Regions from separate parts of the Homo sapiens genome. Here all the other regions are linked to region 2. Evidence: promoter capture Hi-C in 16 types of primary human blood cells and fetal thymus (Javierre and others, 2016). All regions are on one chromosome and are shown on one strand. Each heading gives the region's core, a stretch centred on a gene start or on the middle of the fragment in contact. The rest is flanking DNA. Distances are from core to core; before and after follow the strand shown. Region 1 overlaps CRIM1 (cysteine rich transmembrane BMP regulator 1). Region 2 holds the start of VIT (vitrin). Region 3 has its middle 12 kb from the start of CRIM1-DT.

Region 1 (2,700 bases), core at 27-2,526, 330 kb before region 2:
AGTTGGTATAAACTAGGCAAAACCAGAAGTCAGAGGATTATCCATTCCTCTTGTTCTTTTTCTAGCTCTACCTGTTCTTCTGCCATTCTTCTGCCTGAAAATATTCATGAGCATCGCCTATGGGTCTTGTCTCTGTGCTTTACAGTAGTGACATCACTTGTGTAAGCCAGTTTTTCTGTTAGTCGTCGGTACCTCCTAGGTTCGCTGTGGGGGTTAAGTGAGATAAAACTGTGCTTCTGAAATTTTAGTGTGCACACAAATCACCTAGGTATTTAAAATTGCAAGTCTGATTAAGTTAGTCTGGGGTGATGCCTGTGATTCTACATTTCTAACAAATTTCTGGCTGATGCCAGTGTCACAGGTGCCAGGACCACACTTTTAAGTAGCACAAAGCTAGTACCTATGTATACAGCATGTATCACAGAGTATGCATATTAAAAGACCTGATAAATGTTACCTGCTATTATAGTCATTATTTTTCAGCCAAAATAAATAAGATATGGTCCTTGTTTTCACACAGGCCATGATCTGATGGTAAACTGGAAAAGCAGACAATTCATTACAATCAGTTCAGTAAGCCATGAGATAACGGAAATGCCAAGCATGTCAGGAGCAAGTAAGAGGGAGTCTAACCCAAATCTGACCACCAGGAAAAGTTTAGTGGAGGATGCAGCAACAAGAAAGACCTGAGGGTCTCCTCTCCTCCCTCCTTTTTTCCTGCACTTCTTGTGCAGGATGTTTTAGGAAAAAGAAAATAGGGCTTGGGGCTAGACAAACCTGCATTGAAATCTTAAATCTGTTATTTTTTTAATCGTGAGATCAGCTTGTTTAGTTTCTCTGAGCTTCAGTTCCCTCATCTGTGAAACTGGAATATTAATAGCTTTCTATTAAGTAAATATTGTAGTGAGGATTAGAGATTTATATATATGATTACATAGATGTATATATAAGATTGTGTGTGTGTGTGTATAGTATGTATGTGTATATGCTAGTTTCTGGTACCAAATAGATTTTTTAAAATAATATTAATTTTAATTTCCATTCTATTTTCTATCCTTTCCCATTTTCCTCTTTGTTAGCTTTCTCTGTAAGTTTAAAAATTTACCTTGTGGGCACACATTTCCTCCAAACTTAACTAAATCTCTTCAAAGGGGTGGGAGTTTCGAGGGGGAATTCAAATGTCAGATGTTTGTCAAAGAGAAAAGAACCGTGAAGTACCGAGAACAGGGGGCTGGGAATACAGGGTCTATGCACCAAGGAAACATGCGTTGGTTTGATCCAGTGCAACTACAGTTCCCAGCGCCTTTGGCATTTCAGCAGAATGTGAACACTTGCTTGATTTTGTGGTTTGAGCCCCTACATCCAAAGAGCTATTTCAAATTAATATTTATTTAAAAATGGCCTTTTAATATTAATGGCATATGGTTTTATGACAGTGAATTAAATTTCCTTTTATTGTTAGAACTTTTTGAGGATTTCTGGACATCACTGGAGACGTTGGAGACCCCAAGGATATAGCCAGGCCAGGTTGATATATCTCACTGAGGTTACAGAAGGAAGCAGCGGCAAGCCTAGCCGATTCAGAGACCACTGCGGGCTTGGGAATGAGCAGGAGAGGGTGTGAGGGCCAGAGGCCATCTGTGTTGCTTTTCTCTCTCCCAGTCATTCTAGCCATCTTTGATGTGGACTAATAGTCGAGGTTGGCCATGGGTTTGCACTGTCTCTAGGGAGTCTTTGTGATATAGTGCGGGGTAGGAAGAACACCTAGAATCAAAATATCTAATGTTACTAGCTGTTTAGTTCTTAGTGTGGGTATGGTCCCATTTTAGGAGAACAGAACTATGAACTATGTTTGTGTTTTTTTTTTTTTTTTGAGACAGAGTCTCACTCTGTTGCCAGGCTGAAGTGCAGTGGCATGATCTCAGCTCACTGCAACCTCTGACTCCCTGGTTCAAGCGATTCTCCTGCCTCAGCCTCCTGAGTAGCTGGGATTACAGGCATGTGCCACCACGCCCAACTACTTTGTGTATTTTTAGTGGAGACCACGTTTCACCATGTTGGCCAGGATGGTCTCTCGACCTCGTGATCTGCCCACCTTGGCCTCCCAAAGTGCTGGGATTACAGGCGTGAGCCACCGCGCCCAGCCCAGAACTACATTTGCTTAACTGTGACTCTTTCCTTTGTACCTGAAAATAAGTATCATTTTTATCCAGTAAATATTGGCTGATAATTCATAAGGCAGATGCTTTAAATTGGCTATTGTAGAACAAGGAGAAAGAACTTGATGAAGAGAAAAATCCTTGGAATCAGTGGTTTACAACTTTTTTTTTCCTTCCTGATGATCAAACCGTATTATCGCATAGTAGAAATTGGATTTTCTTCCAGAAACTACTTTAGTACCTCTCATTTGTAGCACTTCTATCAAGAGTGCTGGTATTCGGACATGTAACCTACAAACAAAATCAGAAAGATGTCAAAATAACACCCTAATTCAGACTATCCTGAGAACATTTGTCTTCTGAATATTTAAGAAAAAAAAATAAGTGTTAATTATATTGTAGGGTGTTACCATTTTGTATTTCAAGTTCCTGAGAAGAGAATTTGAACAGTTTGCTATTTGGAAATTTTAGCAACCAGCTACCTTGCCTATGGAAAGATTAAAAAAAAAAGGAGAGGGAGTAGATGGTGGTCCATAGGCTG
Region 2 (2,700 bases), core at 19-2,518:
TTAACAGTGACCTGTGCAGAAATTACATACTATCCATCTAGATAGCTTGCTACACTTCGCCTATTGATGGAATCATTCCATTTATCAAGTTTTATACATCAAAAAGCTTTGAATTTCATCAGGCTCTTCATTAATTCACCTCTGAAAAAGTGGCATTTAATTTCAGCTACCATGTTTTATAGCATTAAAAAGCTTATGCATCTCTGCACAATGGCATTGAGCAGATGAATCCCACCCAGATTCACATAGTCACATTTGAGAGCTTTAGACCAGAGAGCTGGGCCAAAGTTACTCCTAATCAACACAGACTTCTTACCGTGAGAGCCTATCTTCTCGGCCACATTTTATATAGCCAATGAAGACGTGCCAGCAATCATCCCATGTATAACTTGGCATTAGAGCACAAGATCTGTCAAACAATTATCTTAAATAAGGAGCAGTTCCAGGGCCAACAGATGAGGACAGGAGGCTTCTCGAATGGAAGAAGGTTCTCCTCCCTAGCTGCGTGAGTGCACACTCCCCAGCAGGAGGAGGAATGACTCTTTGCTACCTTCTCCTGTGCTTGAAAACAGATGCTCTGCCACACTGATGGACACTGGAATCTCAAGATCTGCCAGATGTACTTTTTTTTGGTCTGATTTTTTTTTAATGATGTGATACGTTAATACACATTTTGAATCTGAATCTCTTAGATTTCATTGATGACACTAATATATAAATAACTAAAACTGGCAGATTTCATGTGAGATTATTCATCAGTATTTTTTTTGAAACATGAGTCAGGTTTTGCTTCCCACTATGATTATCTTGTGTCCTGTAACTACCAGCATATAATTGAGTCATTTCATAAAACTTGCCAAAACGCAGAAAGGACTGAAGCAAAACAAAACAAAAAAATAGCATTAATATGTAGGAAAAAGTACATATTTTCAATTCAAAAGTGGGAGTCCAGTAGAATAAGTTTGAGAGTGTTTGCACAGTTTTCCTTCTTTGTGCAGTTCAGTCCAGCTGTTCACTAGCTTTTGAAAAAGAAAGAAAAAATTGAATTGCCCCTGCTGAAGTAATTTTTAAAACATATCTTTTACTTTCCATTTTTATCTAAGTGGTCCTCCTCTACTTTTTAGAATGTCAAATTGTAGAATTTGCTTACTGAAAGTTTGTGCTTTGGGCTACAAAAGAATATTTAGAAATCCTTACAAAAAAAAAAAAAAAAAAAAGCAGTGGGAGTGGAAATTTGAAAGAGGACCGCCTAATTCAGCACTAAAACCAGTGTGAGAAGCAGTATGTGTGAGCATGTGTGTGTGTGTATGTGTGTGGGGGGGGGTGTAAAATGTGTTTTTCAAAGTACTGAGAGGTTGATGGGACTGTTCGATTAGCTCCTCTGAGAAGAAGAGAAAAGGTTCTTGGACCTCTCCCTGTTTCTTCCTTAGAATAATTTGGATGGGATTTGTGATGCAGGAAAGCCTAAGGGAAAAAGAATATTCATTCTGTGTGGTGAAAATTTTTTGAAAAAAAAATTGCCTTCTTCAAACAAGGTATGTCTGATGAATTTCTAAGCTGTGTATATAGTTACTTTCCATTCATTATCATTGAAACGTATTTGTCTTTAAGAAACTACAATACAAAGCTTGACCGAGTAAGCAAATTTCAGTTTCAAGAGAGTTGAGATGAAAGTGGATGGTACTTGGCATCCTTGTAAACAACTAGTAATATACATATATATTTATCAATTATAAATAAACTGCATTGATATTAATATTATAACAAGATTTTTACTGTTCCTTTAAACCAATTTAATTATGGTTACAAATAAGTTGAAAAGTATGACATTTGTGTAGAATTTTAAAGTAATTTAAGTCTCTATTATCTTGCTTTTTTAAAAACTTTGCTTGGAATATGTGGAATGTAATAGCAATATAGCAAATTGCTTATAAAGATTGTGAATGGCAGTATGAGAAATGGGCACATTGGTGCTAACTTAAAAGAGAAACTATTTCGTGTGGATCTCTACTTCTCTCTATTCAGACAGATTTCAGTGGAATGTGGCTAGATGTGCGATTCTGTGTCTTGTTTACACTTAAAGTGTTTTCTTAGGCTGAATGCTTCTGTTACTGATAAGCCCAACAAGGGGCTGGCATTGTTAAGTCTGCCATCGTAGCTCAGCTTTTCACAGGAAGACAGGATATGAAATCTCTTTTAAGTATGATTTGTGTCCAACTAGTATAAACATGAAATAAACGCCTCAAGCACAGGTTAAAGAGAGAGGATAAGACTGAATAATTAGACATGACAGTTTTCTCCAAACAACCCACAGCATCTTTGCCATTCCTAAATCAAGAGTGGAATTAAAAATTTTCTTTGGACTTATTGTAAAAATAAAAACAAGCATTCTTGGCCGTGGTGGTTGCTCAAAATTGCGTGTGCTAAGAAAATAGTATTTTGCCGTTACGTTGTGTTGCAATAAATTTGGAAGTTTTGGTGGTAAAGTTCTGAGGTTGTTTTTCCCTTGGTCTCTTGAAAGATGAAAACACCCTGCAGCAAAGCAGGATCAAACACTGTTTGTTTGTGTATTTTCTCTCTATGTGTGTTAGCTGCAAGTGGTAGCTAGTGCTGGTAGGAGAGCTGGAAGTGCCCATCTTTTATTTATTGAATTAAAATACCCTCTTTTGTACAAAAAGCTTTAGACAAAGAATTACAAGA
Region 3 (2,700 bases), core at 59-2,558, 350 kb before region 2:
AATCCTGAGCCTCCCACATATAATCTAGGTTATCTAAGACATATTATTTAACTACGCTGTGCCTAAGTTTCCACATCTTTAAAATGAAGATAATAATAGTCCCTCTTGCATAGAGTTGTTGGAGAATTAAATGAAAGGATGCACATAAAGCATGTAGAAAAGAGTTGGGAGCAATTCAAGTGCTCAGTAAATATTAAATTGGAATATTTTAGATTCATGATCTGTTCACATTTAGACCACCAAGTGTACTTTAAGGCACTTTCTTTCTTTTTATTTTATTTTGTTTGTTTGTTTGTTTGTTTGTTTATTTATTTATTTATTTATTTGAGGCAGAGTTTCGCTCTTGTTGCCCAGGCTGGAGTGCAATGGTGCCATCTCATCTCACTGCAACCTCTACCTCCCGGGTTCAAGTGATTCTCCTGCCTCAGCCTCCTGAGTAGTTGGGATTACAGACATGTGCCACCACACACAGCTAATTTTGTATTTTTAGTAGAGACAGGGTTTCACCTTGTTGGCCAGGCTGGTTTCGAACTCCTGACCTCAGGTGATCCACCCCCTTCAGCCTCCCAAAGTGCTGGGATTACAGGCGTGAATCGCTGCACCCAACCTAAGGCCCTTTTTTTTTTTTTTTTTTGAGACGGAGTCTCGCTGTCGCCCAGGCTGGAGTGCAGTGGCGTGATCTCGGCTCACTGCAAGCTCCGCCTCCGGGGTTCACGCCATTCTCTTGCCTCAGCCTCCCGAGCAGCTGGGACTACAGGCGCTCGCCACCTTGCCCGGCTTATTTTTTGTATTCTCAGTAGAGACGGGGTTTCACCGTGTTAGCCAGGATGGTCTCGATCTCCTGACCTCGTGATCTGCCCGCCTCGGCCTCCCAAAGTGCTGGGATTACAGGCGTGAGCCACCGCGCCTGGCCCTAAGGCACTTTTAAAATGAGTGTTTTACTGCTCTACTTGCAGATAAGCTTCCCTGATGATATGCTTAGACTCCCACAATTTTATTTTAGGAACTTAAAAAAAAAAGTTTATAATGAGAAACAAACCAAAAGGAACTCTCCCTTTACTCCTTTGGTGGCTTTCAGAATGTAACAAGAAGAAAGATGTTTACATCTTTGCACAGTTCTTTTTTTAAATTTTTATTTTTTTTATAATTTCAACTTTTATTTTAGATTCAGGGGGTACATGTGCAGGTTTGTTACAAGGATATATTGCATTTGCACAGTTCTGACACTGACAAATGCAGTATCTGCATCACCTAGACAGGTTTTAGATAGCTGAGGAACAGGACAATGATGAAATCAATTTATCACTTTAGGCCAGTTTGTCTCATTTCCCTGGCCATTTCAGCATTTAAGAAGACAAGGAGATGGGAAAGACCTAGAAGCTCTATTGGTCAGTAGGCCTTAGGTGAACTCATGGTTCTGAATAAGGTAAATGGCCACCACCCAAAGCAGCAAGTAAGGACATGGAAGTACCATACAACCTAGCAGGATGTTCTAATGTGGAATACGATAAACAGACCAGATTCAGTGTACAATGAGTTGGTTCTAGATTGAGAGCACTACCGTGCCACAGTGAGGCACGAAGTCACCGAGTCCCAGATCTGAATCCTAACCCAGGCGCATGCATTATGTCCTCAGAATATTTATGTAATTTCTGTGAAGCTTTTTTTCACAGTTCCCCATCTGTAAAAATCTGTCTGGTCACACCTTATGATGAGATTACTATGAGAGTTAAAAGAGAAGAGATATCCAAAGCATTTAGCATACAGTCAGTTTCATGTGCTCAATTAATGGTTGCTAGGAAGCAGAGGAGACAGTAAAAATATTTAAGAACTAAAATGCATGAGCACTGATTAATCAGAACGGATGCCTGACCAATGAGGTCAATTAGAAAGGATTCCCGGTGAATAAAAAAGTTGGCCCAACCAATAAGAAGGACCACAGCCCTGCATACCCTACTGGCACATACTATTTCTTAGAGAAAAGAAGGGGTTTTCATATTGACTAAGGATGCCAGAATTTGGGGCACAGAGAAAAAAGTAAATATCCAATAGAGCTACACCTGGCATGCCACATACAAAATCAGATGAAGGTAAAAAATAGTACTATGGCAGAGTTCTGTATTCTAGAGACTGCTACTCTGGTACCAGGCAAAGTGCCTCAAGGTAGGATGATAGTGTCTGGTGCACAGAAAGACAGGTGGTGCCCATCAGAAACTCAAGCACTAGGCAGGGCGCAGTGGCTCACACCTATAATCCCAGCACTTTGGGAGGCTGAGGTAGGCCGATTGCTTGAGCTCAGGAGTTCGAGACCAGCCTGGTCAACATGGTGAAACCCCACCTCTACAAAAAAATAGAAAAATTAGCCAGGCATGGCGGCACATGCTTGTAGTACCAGCTACTCAGGGGGCTAAGGTGGGAGGATCACCTGAGCCCTGTTGAGAGAAAGAGAGGAAAGAAAAGGAAGGAAGGGAAGGGAAGGAGGGAATGAGAGAGGGAGGGAGGGAGGAAGGAAGGAAGGAAGGAAGGAAGGAAGGAAGGAAGGAAGGAAGGAAGGAAGGAAGGAAGGAAGAATACGGAAGAGAGGAAAGGAAGGAAGAATGAAAGGAAGGATAAAAGGAAAGGAAAGGAGAGGGGAGCGGAGGGGAGGGAGGGGAGAAGGGAGGGGAGGGGAGAAGGAAAAGGTAAGGTAGGCACCAAATG

The links. The method cuts DNA at HindIII sites, captures the fragments that hold promoters and counts their contacts. A CHiCAGO score of 5 or more calls a contact.
Region 1: a contact is called between a fragment that was not itself captured here and the fragment with the promoter of VIT in region 2, in 1 of 17 cell types (M1 macrophages). The highest score is 5.8, in M1 macrophages.
Region 3: a contact is called between a fragment that was not itself captured here and the fragment with the promoter of VIT in region 2, in 2 of 17 cell types (M2 macrophages and endothelial precursors). The highest score is 7.0, in M2 macrophages.

What each region holds. Positions count from the first base shown.
Region 1 is chr2:36,363,880-36,366,579 of GRCh38, forward strand. All of the region lies in intron 1 of CRIM1 (cysteine rich transmembrane BMP regulator 1), which reads left to right. Among named protein-coding and RNA genes, the nearest start is that of CRIM1, 9.5 kb to the left of the region's middle. The HindIII fragment of the contact is 6,469 bases long and covers 1-2,700 here.
Region 2 is chr2:36,695,439-36,698,138 of GRCh38, forward strand. It overlaps VIT (vitrin), which reads left to right and starts at 1,269. Exons shown (of 16, transcript NM_053276.4): 1 at 1,269-1,535. The region is part of intron 2 of LOC124905990 (a long non-coding RNA gene); the gene reads right to left. The HindIII fragment of the contact is 1,435 bases long and covers 191-1,625 here.
Region 3 is chr2:36,341,991-36,344,690 of GRCh38, forward strand. No RefSeq gene overlaps it. Among named protein-coding and RNA genes, the nearest start is that of CRIM1-DT, 12 kb to the right of the region's middle. The HindIII fragment of the contact is 699 bases long and covers 960-1,658 here.